Linked DNA regions of Homo sapiens: all the other regions are linked to region 2. The links are contacts of gene promoters, found by promoter capture Hi-C in blood cells and fetal thymus (Javierre and others, 2016). All regions are on one chromosome and are shown on one strand. Each heading gives the region's core, a stretch centred on a gene start or on the middle of the fragment in contact. The rest is flanking DNA. Distances are from core to core; before and after follow the strand shown. Region 1 holds the start of UMPS (uridine monophosphate synthetase). Region 2 holds the start of ITGB5 (integrin subunit beta 5). Region 3 has its middle 25 kb from the start of MIR544B.

Region 1 (4,274 bases), core at 82-2,581, 160 kb before region 2:
CCTTATCTGTTCCTCTTTTTTAAAAAAGTATTTGTTATAGTTGACACATGATATCGTACACATTTATTGGGTACATAGTGCTATTTCAATACACACAATGTACAGTGATCAAATCAGAGTAATTCATATATTCCTCACCTTAAATATTTATCCTTTCTTTGTGTTGGGAACATTCAAACGCCCCTCTTCTAGCTATTTTAAAATATATAGTAAATTATTATTGACTACAGTCACCCTACAGTGCAATGGAACACTAGGACTTATTCCTCCTATCTAGCTGTAATTTGTGTCCTTTAACCACCCCCTACCCTTCCCAGCCTCTAGTGATTACTATTTTATTCTCTAGCTCCATGAGATCAACTTTTTTAGCTTCTGCATATGAGCGAGAACATTTGGTATTTATCTTCCTGTTCCTGGCTTGTTTCACTAACATAATGTCCTTCAGGTTCATCCACCTTGCTGCAAATGACAAGGTTTCATTCTTTATGTGAATTTAAGGGTTATTTTCCTTAAGCTAGAATAAAGTATTGCCTTATATACACAATGGAGAAGGGATTTATTTGTACAGATTATTTATTGATTATTTCTTTAAGGGATTTATTTGTAAAGACCAAATATGTTTGGATTTTCAGATTGTCTAGCAATATTATCCTCCTGGATAACCCTGATACCAATCAATTAACCGTCTTCTAACTCTCCTCCTTCCCTCCCTTACCTTTTCTACACCTATTACCTAAGCATTTGAGGTACGCCAAAGGAAATAAAAAAGTACTCCTCCAGGAAGCAGAGTACAGACAAAAGAGGTAATGAATACTGTAATGATCTAAGTGCTATATATTCCTATGTGCAAACTGCTATGGAACTGTCACGTACTAGATGCTATGAAGTTAATAAAAGAATTGAGTAAAGGTCCCTGTCTTTGATAACTTATATTCTATTTGGAGAAACATGGGGGGTAAATCTTGGCTAATAACTAGCAAATATAACATGTTAGGCCAAGGAGTAGAGATAATTAAGAGAACTAGTCGAGAAGGCATTGGCTATTAAAAAATGGACAGGATTTATGCAAACTCTCATGAAAGGTGGGACTTCATGATCCTACAGTCAATCTAGCTGTTCTGGGCTTTGAACCCCAGCGACCCCATCCAGAAGAAACCAGGAGAAGCACAAACTGGCGCTAGGTTCGCTACCATCCACCTGACCCTTGAGCCCGGGGAAACCCACGGGTGCAGCAAGCCGGGAAAGCTGCAGACGAGGCAGGCGGAAGAGGCGGGACTTCGCGGGTGACGTCATCGGGGCGCCGGAGGCCCGGGGCGCCTGGGAATTTGAAGCAAACAGGCAGCGCGCGACAATGGCGGTCGCTCGTGCAGCTTTGGGGCCATTGGTGACGGGTCTGTACGACGTGCAGGCTTTCAAGTTTGGGGACTTCGTGCTGAAGAGCGGGCTTTCCTCCCCCATCTACATCGATCTGCGGGGCATCGTGTCTCGACCGCGTCTTCTGAGTCAGGTGCTGGCCTAGGAAGGGAAAGGACAGGGCTTGGTGGCGGGAAGGAGGACAAGGAAATGGAAGAGGGTGACAGGAGTTGGGCCGTGAGTGAGAGCAAAAGAGCCAAGCAGGCAGACCGACCCTACTCTTGGTTTGGGGAGTAAGCATGAGAAGCACAGAGGCCAGGGGTTGGGCTCCTCGAGAGTCGTCTGTTCTTTCACCCACACGCTTAGACACGTGTTTTGCAAAAGTCGGGAAACCCAGTTTGGAACGCTTTCTGGCACTGAAGCACACTTGAATGAATTCTGTATATTTAACTCTTTAAGAAAATTAGACTTGCGGCCGGGCGTGGTGCCTCATGAGAGTAATACCAGCACTTTGGGATGCCTAAGTGGGCAGATCACCTGAGCCCCAGGAGTTCGAGACCAGCCTGGGCAACATGACGAGACCCCGTCTCTACAAAAAATTAGCTGGGTGTGGTGGCGCACGCCTGGGACGCTGAGGTGGGAGGATCACCTGAGCCTGGGAGGTCAAGGCTGCAATGAGCTGTCATTGCGCCACTGCACTCCAGCCTGGGCGACAAGTGAGACCCTGCCCTCAAAAAACAAACAAATAGACCGGGAAAACGTGGGTAGGCAGAGAATTCAGTAGCTGGGAAATTACTGGTGAGAAAAGGAAAATAGAACAACCAGAACTCTGTGATGTATACAAAATTTATCAGAGCCCAGAGAGACTTCAACCATACTCCCCTATGCAGCCCCGGGACAATTATTTAAAGGAATTTTGTCCCTGACTAGCTGCCTCTCCCATTATCTTAATGTACCTGGAATGTGTGATACAAAGAACAATGTATAGCTAATCAATCGCTTGTGTTATTATTTTATTTATTTATTTTTTAGATGGGATCTCTCTTACGTCACCCAGGCTGGAGTGCAGCTCTGTGATCATAGCTCACTGCAGCCTGGAACTCCTGGGCTTAAGAGATCTTCTTGCCTCGGGTGAGCACAGGGGCTCATGCCTGTAGTCCCAACTTTGGGAGGCTTTCTTTGGGAGGCTGAGGCGGGTGGATCACTTAAGGTCTGGAGTTCGAGACCAGCCTGGCCAACATGGTGAAACCCTGTCTCTACTGAAAATGCAAAAATTAGCTGGGCATGGTGGTGCACACCTGTAATCCCAGCTACTCAGGAGGCTGAGGCAGAAGAATCAGGAGGTTGCAGTTAGCCGAAATTGAGCCACTGCACTCCAGCCTGGGCAACAGAGGGAGACTGTCTCAGAAAAAAAAAAAAAAAAGAGATCCTCTTACCTCAACCTCTGAGTAGCTGGAACTACAGGCATGTGCCATCATGCCCACCAAATTAAAAATTTTTTTTTTTTGTAGAGAGGAGGTCTCACCATACTGCCCAGGCTCGTCTCAAACTCCTGGCCTCAAAAGATCCTCTTGCCTTGGCGGCTTCCCAAGTAGCTGGGACTACAAATGCCTGGTGCCACCCCCGGGCTACCTCCTGTTATTTCAATGCAAATTCTTGGTGAATATAGGAACTGCCCCTTCTTTTGCTTTAAAAATCCACTTGTAACTACTGTAATCGAAGCCTATAGTCAGGGCAACTACTCATATTAATTTTGCCTCAGCCTCTTCCTGTTAGGTCCACACTTGGAAGGGCTGTTTGGAAAGGGGAGTTGAATTTTGCACTGTGCGGCCAGAAGCAATAATTAAGACTAGAAGGTGGACATATTGGGAAAGCAGGTTTTTAGTCAATATAAGGAAAATTTTTGTACAAATTAGAGGTTTCTAATACAGTGCTTCTCAACTTTGAGTATATATGAATTACCTGGGAATTTTGTTAAAATGCAGAATCCATTTCTGTAGCTCTGAGACTAGACCTGAGGTTGTGCATTTCTAACAAAGTGCCAGCTGAAACTGCAGACCACACTGAGTAGAGGGCCGTAAATATGCTTTCCAATACAGTTTGCTACTAGCCACGTGTTACTATTGAGCATTATGAATTTTTAAGTTTAAATAGTCATATATGGCCAGTGGCTATCATATTGGACTGCAAAGATAGAGAACATTTCCATCATTGCAGAAAGTTCTATCAAGAAGACATATAAGTTTCCTCAGCCCACTTAAGGGTTTATGTTCACTAGGGACCACTTTGTGTGGTTATTGTAAAAAGTATTGAAGATAGGTTGGACTATTAAGGTTGCGGTACTTTGGACCATTAACTTCTCACCATCCAGAATCTTGCTATGGTGTATCTTAGCAATGTGGAGAATTACTAAGGATTTTCTAGGGAAAAATTGATTTATTTTAATAAGCCAGCTGATAAATGACAGAAAAAGTTTTTTGATAACTAGATCATGGTGTGTGTGTGTGTGTGTGTGTGTGTGTGTATTTTGGTGATTAACTGGGGAGGAGTTCAAAACATGGAGAGACTTGGGTATAACAAAACTTCTTTTCACATCTTATGCGAATAGAATTTCTCAGTATTTACACCCCAAAAAGCAATATAATTTATGCTAAACTCTAACTTCCCTTAATAAGTGATAATAAGTGATATTTGACTATAGTACTATATACACATTAGTGTACATAAAGTAATTGGAGAGGAAAGGTAGCATTAACTCACTAAAAATGCATTTTCCAAATCTGTTTTTATCTCTCTGTCAAAATTTGCAAATCATGTTTGAATTAATCATATGCTTGTTATAATTTAATGATATACAGAAGAATTCTCTTCTTTAAAAAGTACAATTTCCATTTTCTTTTCCTCAAGAGAATAGTTTCTCT
Region 2 (4,608 bases), core at 1,228-3,727:
CCATATGAGAAAATGGACATCACCGTGAAGATGTACGTGAACTCTGAAAAAGAGAAAGCAAGATGCAAGTGGAAAATAATGTATTTTTAGAAATTATTCGCAGCCAGGCGTGGTGGCTCATGCCTGTAATTGAAGCACTTTGGGAGGCCAAGGCAGTTAGATCACCTTAAGTGAGGAGTTCAAGACCAGCCCAGCCAACATGGTGAAACCCCATCTCTACTAAAAATACAAAAATTAGCCGGGCATGGTCGCAGCGCCTGTAATCATTGCTACTTGGGAGGCTAAGCCAGGAGAATTGCTTGAACCTGGGAGGTGGAGGTTGCAGTGAGCCGAGATGGCACCACTGCACTCCAGCCTGGGCTACAAGACTGAAACTCTGACTCAAAAAAAAAAAATTATTTGCAACTAGAAATTATTATTATAATTCTGTTTGTCAGAATTACAGAATGTCAAGCTGGAAAGGAACTTAAAAGCCATCTCCTTTGGCAGTTTCTGAACTTTTGGATTTCAAAGAAAACTAAGATTTAAAAACAAAACAAAAGAAACAAACAGAAAAAGAGAAGGGGAGCTTAACATAGGGTTGTCAGATTTTCTTATTTTGCCAAAATTAAAAACTACTAATATTATTAAGAAGTATTAAAAGAAAATGTTCCCACCAAAAAAAGAAAAAGTGCCTAATTTCAAACTAAAGGAAAGTCCTTGTGGAGCAGGGGAGCGTTGACAACAATACATTCCTGTGTGATGCAGGCTACATCTTCCTGCTCCTCGCTTTCCCTAGGGACCCATGAAAATATCCGTGATGGGCACTGGCTGCCGGATGGGTGTTTGGAATCCACTCATCTACTCTCCAAGCTCTGGAGTGATTATTTTCCCATTTAAAACAAAAACCAAAAACCTTGCTACAGTATTAAGTTTGAATTAGGGTCTGAACGAAGTTATTGTTTGCTCAGACCCCTCCTCCGCTCTTAAACCTAAACCTCCACTGCCTTCATGTAAATGAGACACCGTGGGGGAACAGTCCTCCCTTCGGGCAGCCAGGCAACCACTTGGCTCACAAGAGCAATCAAGTATCTCCGGCTTGAAAGTTAATAGAGCACTATTATTTCCTAAAAGAAAGGAGAAAATCCGCATCCCAAACAAGTGCATCCTTCCTCGAGGGCCTCCAAACTACCACGTCCAATCATCTCCCAACTCTGAAAAGTTAGAGCAGGTAACCGAGGGATCCTTGCAACGCTGCCAGCCCACCGCAGCGTCGGGCTAAGGCAATCTCCACAGCCCCTGTCCTCTGCTCCAGAATCCTCCACAGTTAGGGGAGTGTGAGGCTCCGAGCGTGTGCAAATCGCGGGATAAAGTCGGGCAGAAGGAATTTAATAGGGAAGTCCCAGGTGGGGCTGTGGTTTGGGACGCGGGTGCCCCCTCGGGTTTGCGGTGGCCTAGGCGAGGAGGAAGCAGGCGGGGGGCGGGGAGGGTGGGGGCTGCATCTTCAAAGGCAGGCGGCTAGCCTAGGCGCAGCGAACTCCAGGATTCGCTGTGGGCCCTGTGCACCCGCTGTTCCAGGAGGCGAGCCCTCCGGAGTGGAGGTGGCCCCGGGCTTTGGCTGGGGTTTCGAGACTCCCTTGCTTCTCCGGGAACAGGGCACCGACGGCATCCCCCCAGCAGCCCGCCCGCTCCCGGCCGGCCACAAGGACCGCTTTGTGCCCGCCAACGGAGAGCCCGGGCCCCAAGGCAGGGCTGGCGGCGGTCCTCCCCGTGCCCTGGGCGCGGGCCCTGGCGGGCTAGGTCAGCAGGCCGGCCAGCCTGTTTACACAGGAAGGGAAGCTCCTCCTCAGCCCGGGAGGGAACAGGAGACTCACGACAGCCCGGCGGGGCTGCGCGCGGGGAGCGCCCCGCGGGGCTGTCCCCCAGCGACTGGCCCACCAGGGAGTGCCCCGAAGGCGCCCTCCGCCCTCAGGCACCGCCTGCGCTCCCCGCCCCTCCGAGACGCCCGCCCGCGGCTGAGTGTGCGACAAAGTTTCTCTGGGCGCCGTGGGCGGCGCGGCTTACCTGCGAGCCGGGGCAGGAGCGCGCAGAGCCCCAGGAGGCAGGCGTACAGCGGCGCCGGGGCCCGCGGCATGGTGGGGCGCCTCCCTCAGCGGCGGCGCGGTCGCTGCACTCCGCGGGGGCCGGCGGCCGGGGCTGGGGCCGGAGCGCGGGGGCCGAGGGCCGGGGGCCGCAGCCGCATGCCCCGCGCGCAGCTCCGGCTCACGGCGCCCGCGCTGGCCCGCGCCCCGCCGCCACCATCCGTCCCGCAGCACTCACGGCCGAGTCCCGGGACCGCGGCTGCCCTGGCTGGCCGGCCGGGACTCCTAGTGTGTCGCCGCTCGGGACGGCCCCAGCGGGCTGCTCCGGGTAGGGGAGGGGCTGGCTCCGCTCGGCGGCCGCGACTTGGGCTCCGAGACGCGCCCAGCGCCGAGACTCCCCCGCGCGCCGGCACACTCTGCCCCTGGCCTCCGCCCCTTCCCTTCCTCCCTCCGGCCCGCCAGGCTCCACTTTCCTCCTCTCCTTTCTCCTCCCCTTCTCTCCCCTGCCAGGCCCTCGCCCGGCCGCCACACGGTCAGCTTACGGTGAGGCGGGGCGGGGCGAGCTCCGGGCCGGGCCAGCTCCGCCCTGTGCGGGGACCGGCCCGGGACGCGGAGGCCCTACGGGCCCAGGTGGAAGTCGCTTGCGACTCACTTGGGGCGTGGGGGGCTCGAAACCACTGAGTAGAGCCCGCTCCCGTTGCTTAGCCGCCCGTCGCCACGGGAAAGGGGCGGGGCACGCTGTATTAGGCGAGCCGAGATTACTTGGGCCAAAGGCGGTTGCTAGACTGCGAGAGGGAGAGCAGGTACGGGGGTCGTGCCGGTACCGCCTCATCCTCCCAAAGCCTCACTGCCGGCGGCCTGAGATGGGACGTAGACGCCCGCGCGTGGAACCGCAAAGCGACTTCTGGATGAGCAAGGGAGGGCGTGGTGGGGCGTGGAGGCACAAGTAAAACCTACATTTCTTTTTCTTTTCTTTTTTTTTTTTTTTTGAGACAGCGTCTTGCTCTCACTCAGGCTGGAGTGCACTGGCCCAGTCTTGGCTCACTGCAGCCTGGACCTCCTGGGCTCAAAGGTTCCTCCACCTTAGCCTCCTGAGTAACTGGGACTACAGGCGCGCGCCACCACACCCGGACAATTTTTACATGTTTTGTAGAGATGGGGGTCTCGCTGTGTTGCTCAGGTTAGTCTTGAACTCCTGGGCTCAAGCATTCCTCCTGTGTCTGCCTCCTAAAGTGCTGAGATTACAGGTGCGAGCCACCGTGCCCGGCCCACTTTTCACTTTTTAACTTTTGCACCTTTCAAGGATTTGAGACTGGCCAATATGCCGCTATATTTCGTTGTCCTTACTGATAATCTGTCAGTTTCCATGATCAAACTGATAGACTCAAAAACATATGCTCAGGCTTTCATCTTATCATTTACATATAAGCTGGATCTGAACTAGCCAATAAAGAGTGGGGTGGGGTCTTCCTCAGATGGTGCAGGAAAGGATGCCTTGGGCTTGGATTCGCTACAAGTGCGTTTAGAGTGGAGTGGTTGATAGGCAAGAGAAGAGGCGACATTCAGGTAGGGGAAAATAACGATAGAATACCTACCAAGTACAGAGAGCACACTGCCAGCCAGGCACTGTTCTAAGTCCTTTACCCATATTAACTCATTTCATCCTCCGACAACCCTACTGTTATCCAGTTGAGGAACCGAGGGACAGAGGGGTTAACTGCTGGAGGAAGTGACAGCTAGGATGCCTCGTTCAAAAGTGCAGCATGGCTTGGCTAAAACTGAAGCAGTAAGGGGGAAAGAACAAAGGGGTCTCACCTTTGCAGGCCAGGGACCTGGTGGAAGAATGGCTTGGAGGGCCCAGTGGAAAACTGTCCTAACTGCCCAGCTCAAGGAGTTTGGATGTTAACCTTTATTTCTTGGCCTCCTCCCAAACTCTAACAAGGTGGTGCCTCAATGCCTGAGGAAGTAAACTTCTTGAAGTACAATATAGTGTGCCTGGGGGCAAAGATGCAGCAGTCCATAGCAAGCTCCTTTATAGTATTTGTGAAAGGAAAATAAATCTCAGGGCCCCCAAATCACTAAGCCAGGAGAAAAATCAAGCTGGGAACCGTGTCAGGCAAACCTGCCTCCCATTTTATGCCTAATTAAGATAGCTAAGAAGCTACATACCTCCCTCACAATTTACCCACAGGAAATTCCTTTTGGACAAAGGACAGACAGAACTCAAAGTCATCCCTCTGAGGCTCACCTGAGACAAATGAATACCTGATTGCTCCCTCTGGCCTATTGTTTATGTAAAAATGCAGATTCACTGAGCCAGACTAAATTGTGTATTCAGTGGAAGGCTGATCAAGGACCCAAAAGAATGCAACCTTTTGTCTCTTATCTGCTTCTAACCTGGAAGCCCCCACTTCAAGTTGTCCTGCCTTACAAAACCAAACCAATGTACGTCTTACACATATTGATTGATGTCTCATGTCTCCCTAAAACGTATAAAAGCACACTGTAACCCCGACCACCTTGGGTACATATTGTCAGGACTTCCCGT
Region 3 (4,832 bases), core at 2,016-4,515, 130 kb before region 2:
GACACGATCAGCAGGGAAAGCACGTGTGTTTTTATGAGAATTATGCCGAGATAGGTAACAGATGAGGATGAAATTTGGGCTTGCCTGAAGTAATGGGGGCTGTCTGTGAAGCCTTGCGGCAGTACAGCCCAGGTAATTTGCTGAGCCTAATGGGTGTCAGGGTCAGTCTAAGTGAAGGCAAAGAGAGGCTGGGATGAAGGGTGCAAAGGAATAGTAAAGAAAGCATGTTTGAGATCCAGAACAGAATAATGGGTAGTAGAGGGAGATATTGAAGATAGGAGAGCATATGGGTTTGGCACCATGGGGTGGATAGGCAAAACAATTTGGTTGATAAGGCACAGATTCTGAACTAACTTGTAAGCCTTGTCTGGTTTTAGGACAGGTAAAATGGGGGAATGGTAAGGAGAGTTTATAGGCTTTAAAAGGCCATGCCGTAGCAGGCGAGTGTTAACAGGCTTTAATCCTTTCAAAGCGTGCTGTGGGATGGGATATTGGCGTTGAGCGGGGTAAGGGTGATTAGGTTTTAATGAGATGGTAAGGGGCATGTGATCGGTTGCCAGGGAAGGAGTAGAGATGTCCTATACTTGTGGGTTAAGGTGGGGGGATATGAGAGGAAGACTCGAAGGAGGCTTTGGGTTGGGGAGAAGGGCGGCAATGAGATGTGGCTGTAGTCCAGGAATAGTCAGGGAAGCAGATAATTTGGTTAAAATATCTCGGCCTAATAAGGGAACTGGGCAGGTGGAGATAACTAAAAAAGAGTGCATAAAAGAGTGTTGTCTAAATTGGCACCAGAGTTGGGGAGTTTTAAGAGGTTTAGAAGCCTGGCTGTCAATACCCACAACAGTTATGGAGACAAGGGAAACAGGCCCTTGAAAAGAAGGTAATGTGGAGTGGGTAGCCTCCATATTGATTAAGAAGGGGACGGACTTACCCTCCACTGTGAGAGTTACCTAAAGCTCGGCGTCCGTGATGGTCTACGGGGCTTCTGAGGCAATCAGGCAGCATCAGTCTTCAGCCGGTAAGCCAAGAAGGAGTCAGTCAGAGAACCTTGGGCCAGAGTTCCAGAGGCTCTGGGAGTGGCTGCCAGGTGAGTTGAACAGTCCGATTTTCAGTGGGGTCCCACACAGATGGGACGCGGCTTAGGAGGAATCCCGGGCTGCGGGCATTCCTTGGCCCAGTGGCCAGATTTCTGGTACGTGTAGCAAGCTCCTGGGGGAGGAGGTTCTGGAGGAACGCCTGGCTGCTACGGTTCAGGCGTTTGGAAGTTCTTTTGTGCTGGAGATGTGGCTGGGGTTTGTCTCACAGTGGAGGCAAGGAATTGCAACTTTTTTCTGTTATTGCACACCTTGAAGATGAGGCTAATTAAGTCCTGTTGTGGGGTTTGAGGGCCGGAATTTAATTTTTGGAGTTTTATTTAATGTTGGGAGCAGATTGGGTAATACAATGTATATTGAGAATAAGGCGGCCTTTTGACCTTTTAGGGTCTAGGGCTGTAAAGCATCTCAGGGTTGCTGCCAAACGAGCCATGAACTGGGCTGGATTTTTATATTTGATGAAAAAGAGCCTAAACGCTGTCTGATTTGGGATAAAGAAAAAGGAGCATTAACCTTGACTATGCCTTCAGCTCCAGCCACCTTTTTAAGAGTAAATTGCTGGGCAGGTGGGGGAGGGCTAGTCACGGAATGAAACTGTAAGCCGGACCAGGTGTGAGGAGGGGAGGCGATAAAAAGATTATAGGGTGGAGGAGCGGAGGCTGAGGAAGAATTGGGGCCTAGCTTGGGCTGGCGAGGAGGGGAGAGGTCAGATGGGTCTGTAGAAAAGGAAGATTAGAAAGACTCAGCGACGCTTGGGGTTGGGACTGAGGGGACAGGCGGGAGGGAAAGAAGGAAGATTTGGGACGAGTTGCACTGGGCACAGAGACTAGGAAGGGACTGATGTGTAAAAGAATGCCTGGACGTCAGGCATCTCAGACCATATGCCCATTTTACGACAAGAACTATTTAGATCTTGTAGGATGGAAAAATTGAAAGTGCCATTTTCTGGCTATTTGGAACTACTGTCGAGTTTGTATTGGGGTCAAGCGGCATTGCAGAAGAAAATAAGGCATTTAGGTTTTAGGTCAGGTGTGAGTTGAAGAGGTTTTAAGGTTTTGAGAACACAGGCTAAGGGAGAAGAAGGAGGAATGGAAGGTGGAAGCTTACCTATAGTGAAGAGGCAAGCCCAGAGAAAAGAGTAGAGACACGGAGAAGGGGTGGGGGGTTCTTGCCCTCCAGAAGCAGAGAAGGGGTTGGGGCACGGAAATAAGGGATTGGGGCACAGAGATAAGAGGTCAGGGTGCAGAAATAAGGGATTGGGGCACAGAGATAAGAGGTTGGGGTGCGGAAATAAGCGATTGGGGGGTTCTTACCCCCTAGGAAAGCGGGACTTGCCGCTAAGGATGAAGGGGAAGGGGTTGAGGGGTACTTGCCCCTGCCCCAGAAAAGCGGGACTTGCCACTAAGGGTGAAGGACCAAGGCAGGCGTCCCTGCGTGGTCTGACACACTTGAAACGTGAGTGTATAATCAGAGAGCGTCCCTGCAGTGATTAAACACCAAGGGAAGGCTGCCTTCCCAGTCCATGACCGGTGCCGGAGTTTTGGGTCCACGGATAAAACCTGTCTCCTTTGTCTCTACCAGAAAATGAAAGGAATTGAAATTAAGAGAAGGGAGAGATTGAAGTGTGCCGCCAAGATTGAAAGGAGAAAGAGGTTGAGGGATAGTGAGGGAGGTTGGAGGAGAGAGTAAAAAGTGGCCGCTTAGCGGATTTGAAATTGGTGAGATGTTTCCTGGGCTGGTCGGTCTGAGGACCTGAGGTCGTAGGTGGATCTTTTTCACGGAGCAAAGAACAGGAGGACAGGGGATTGATCTCCCAAGGGAGGTCCCCCGATCCGAGTCACGGCACCAAATTTCACTCGAGTCCATGTGAAGAGACAACCAGACAGGCTTTGTGTGAGCAACATGGCTGTTTATTTCACTTGGGTGCAGGCGGGCTGAGTCCGAAAAGAGAGTCAGCGAAGGGAGATGCGGCCGTTTTATAGGATTTGGGAAGGTAATGGAAAATTACAGTCAAAGGGGGTTGTTCTCTGGTGGGCAGGGGCGGGGTTCACAAGGTGCTCAGTAGGGGAGCTTCTGAGCCAGGAGAAGGAAATTCACAGGGTTAATCACTCAGTTAAGATGGGGCAGGAACAAATTACAATGGTGGAATGTCATCAGTTAAGGCGGGGCAGGGCCTTTTCACTTCTTTTGTGATTCTTCAGTTACTTCAGGCCATCTGGGCGTATACGTGCAAGTCACAAGGGGATGCGATGGCTTGGCTTGGGCTCAGAGGCCTGACAGAAAGGAGTCTTTGAAGGATTGAACTTCTGTGCGAGGAAACATGACATTTGTGTCAGTTGTCATCTTCCTTCATTTAAAAAAATAGAACAGTTCCTGGGGTTTTTGTTAACGTGTGTTGTTCTGCATTGGCAGGCCTGTGCACACCTACCCCTCAAAGTCTGAGGAAGCTGAGAAGTCAAAGAGAGAGCCTGACAAACCCAGTTTCTCAGAAAGAAATATTTAATAGGGACTTAAGAACAGAAGCTATGTCTGTCTCTTGGGCAGTGGTGAGACAAGTTGTTGGATCCCTGAACCATTATCCCCTAAACCTAGGGCTACAGACCACAGGGAAGAGATGGATGTGAAAAGAAGGGGTGTGTAGGACAATGGCTTAAGGGCAGAACTTGTGGTAAATACAATAACATCAAGGTTGTTTAGTTAGTACCTACTCTTACACAAGGAACAATAGATAAACTGGAAATCTTAGAGAGCTTTCCAGAACAGGAATTAATCAGAAGTCAACATGGCAGATTCACTTCCAAGATGGAGTTGCCTTGGCCTCCACATGTGTGTACCAGAGACTGCTCATGTGATGAGGACAAAAGAGAAAGATTCAAGGAGGAAGGAGAGACATTTTATAATGTATCAGTCTGCTCTTAGAGCACTTCACTTTATTTCAGTAGAGATGTATGCCCCCAAGACAGAGACTCAGATGACTCCCCAATCATGCGGCAGAATTCTGGGATAAGAAGAGACAGACTTCTTCCAGGAGCAGGTGCAGGGCAGAGGACTCTAGAGAAGGGATTCTTGAGCTTGGGTCTCACCAACTGTCACTCAAGGTGTGACTGTTCTCAATCTCCCCTTTTGTAAAATGGGGAAATACCTTCCCTGAATGTGGTATTTGTGGGGTAGTTGTGAGGATCAAATGAGGAGTTTGCTTTCAGTCACAGGGATCTGATATTCTATGTGGGTGGGACCAATGAAGCTTTCAATGATGTGTCTTCCAGGGAGGGTGTTTTTGAAATCAAACTGAGATGATAACCCTGAGAAATAGGATTGGACTTTTTAGCATCTTCTTTGTTACACATTTATAGGCATTGTTCTAACAAGGGTGTCTGTAGCATTCACCAGAATGTCAAAGCAGCCCATGACCCAAAAGGGTCAGGAACTCCTACTGTAGCAGGTCAGTGAGGTGGCTGCCCCTGATGGGTTGCCCCTTGCTGTTTAGAGCTTGCCTTTTTCCACCAAGAATTCGAGGCATCTTAAAGTGAAGACGTTATGCAGCTGGGTATCTATCAGAAGGATCAGGACGTGTGGAGGGGGAAGGTAGGAAGAGGATGGGGGTTGTTAATGGAGGGGGCAGTGGGGTTGGGTTGAGAGGAAAAGGGGTGGCACTAAGAACCCGAGCCTCTTTTTCTCTTGTCCCCATGTTATGAACAGTCTCTGGTCCACTAAATGCATTCAGTTCCCAGCTTCCTA

Evidence for each region. Contacts are between HindIII fragments. The CHiCAGO score rates a contact against its expected background, and 5 or more counts as called.
Region 1: a contact is called between the fragment with the promoter of UMPS here and the fragment with the promoter of ITGB5 in region 2, in 4 of 17 cell types (non-activated CD4 T cells, monocytes, naive CD8 T cells and 1 more). The highest score is 7.0, in non-activated CD4 T cells.
Region 3: a contact is called between a fragment that was not itself captured here and the fragment with the promoter of ITGB5 in region 2, in 14 of 17 cell types (megakaryocytes, endothelial precursors, M2 macrophages and 11 more). The highest score is 12.9, in megakaryocytes.

The regions. Positions count from the first base shown.
Region 1 is chr3:124,729,121-124,733,394 of GRCh38, forward strand. It overlaps UMPS (uridine monophosphate synthetase), which reads left to right and starts at 1,332. Exons shown (of 6, transcript NM_000373.4): 1 at 1,332-1,507. The coding sequence starts at 1,352. It overlaps MIR544B (microRNA 544b), which reads left to right and starts at 3,319; the gene lies at 3,319-3,396. RefSeq lists enhancers at 990-1,589, 1,002-1,411. The HindIII fragment of the contact is 5,140 bases long and covers 1-4,274 here.
Region 2 is chr3:124,884,888-124,889,495 of GRCh38, forward strand. ITGB5 (integrin subunit beta 5) reads right to left here and starts at 2,478. Exons shown (of 15, transcript NM_002213.5): 1 at 2,044-2,478. The coding sequence starts at 2,113. RefSeq lists enhancers at 318-1,202, 2,971-3,853, 3,854-4,608 and silencers at 1,867-1,956, 2,417-2,856. The HindIII fragment of the contact is 6,734 bases long and covers 1-4,608 here.
Region 3 is chr3:124,754,811-124,759,642 of GRCh38, forward strand. No RefSeq gene overlaps it. Among named protein-coding and RNA genes, the nearest start is that of MIR544B, 25 kb to the left of the region's middle. RefSeq lists enhancers at 2,236-3,205, 4,756-4,832. The HindIII fragment of the contact is 2,142 bases long and covers 2,195-4,336 here.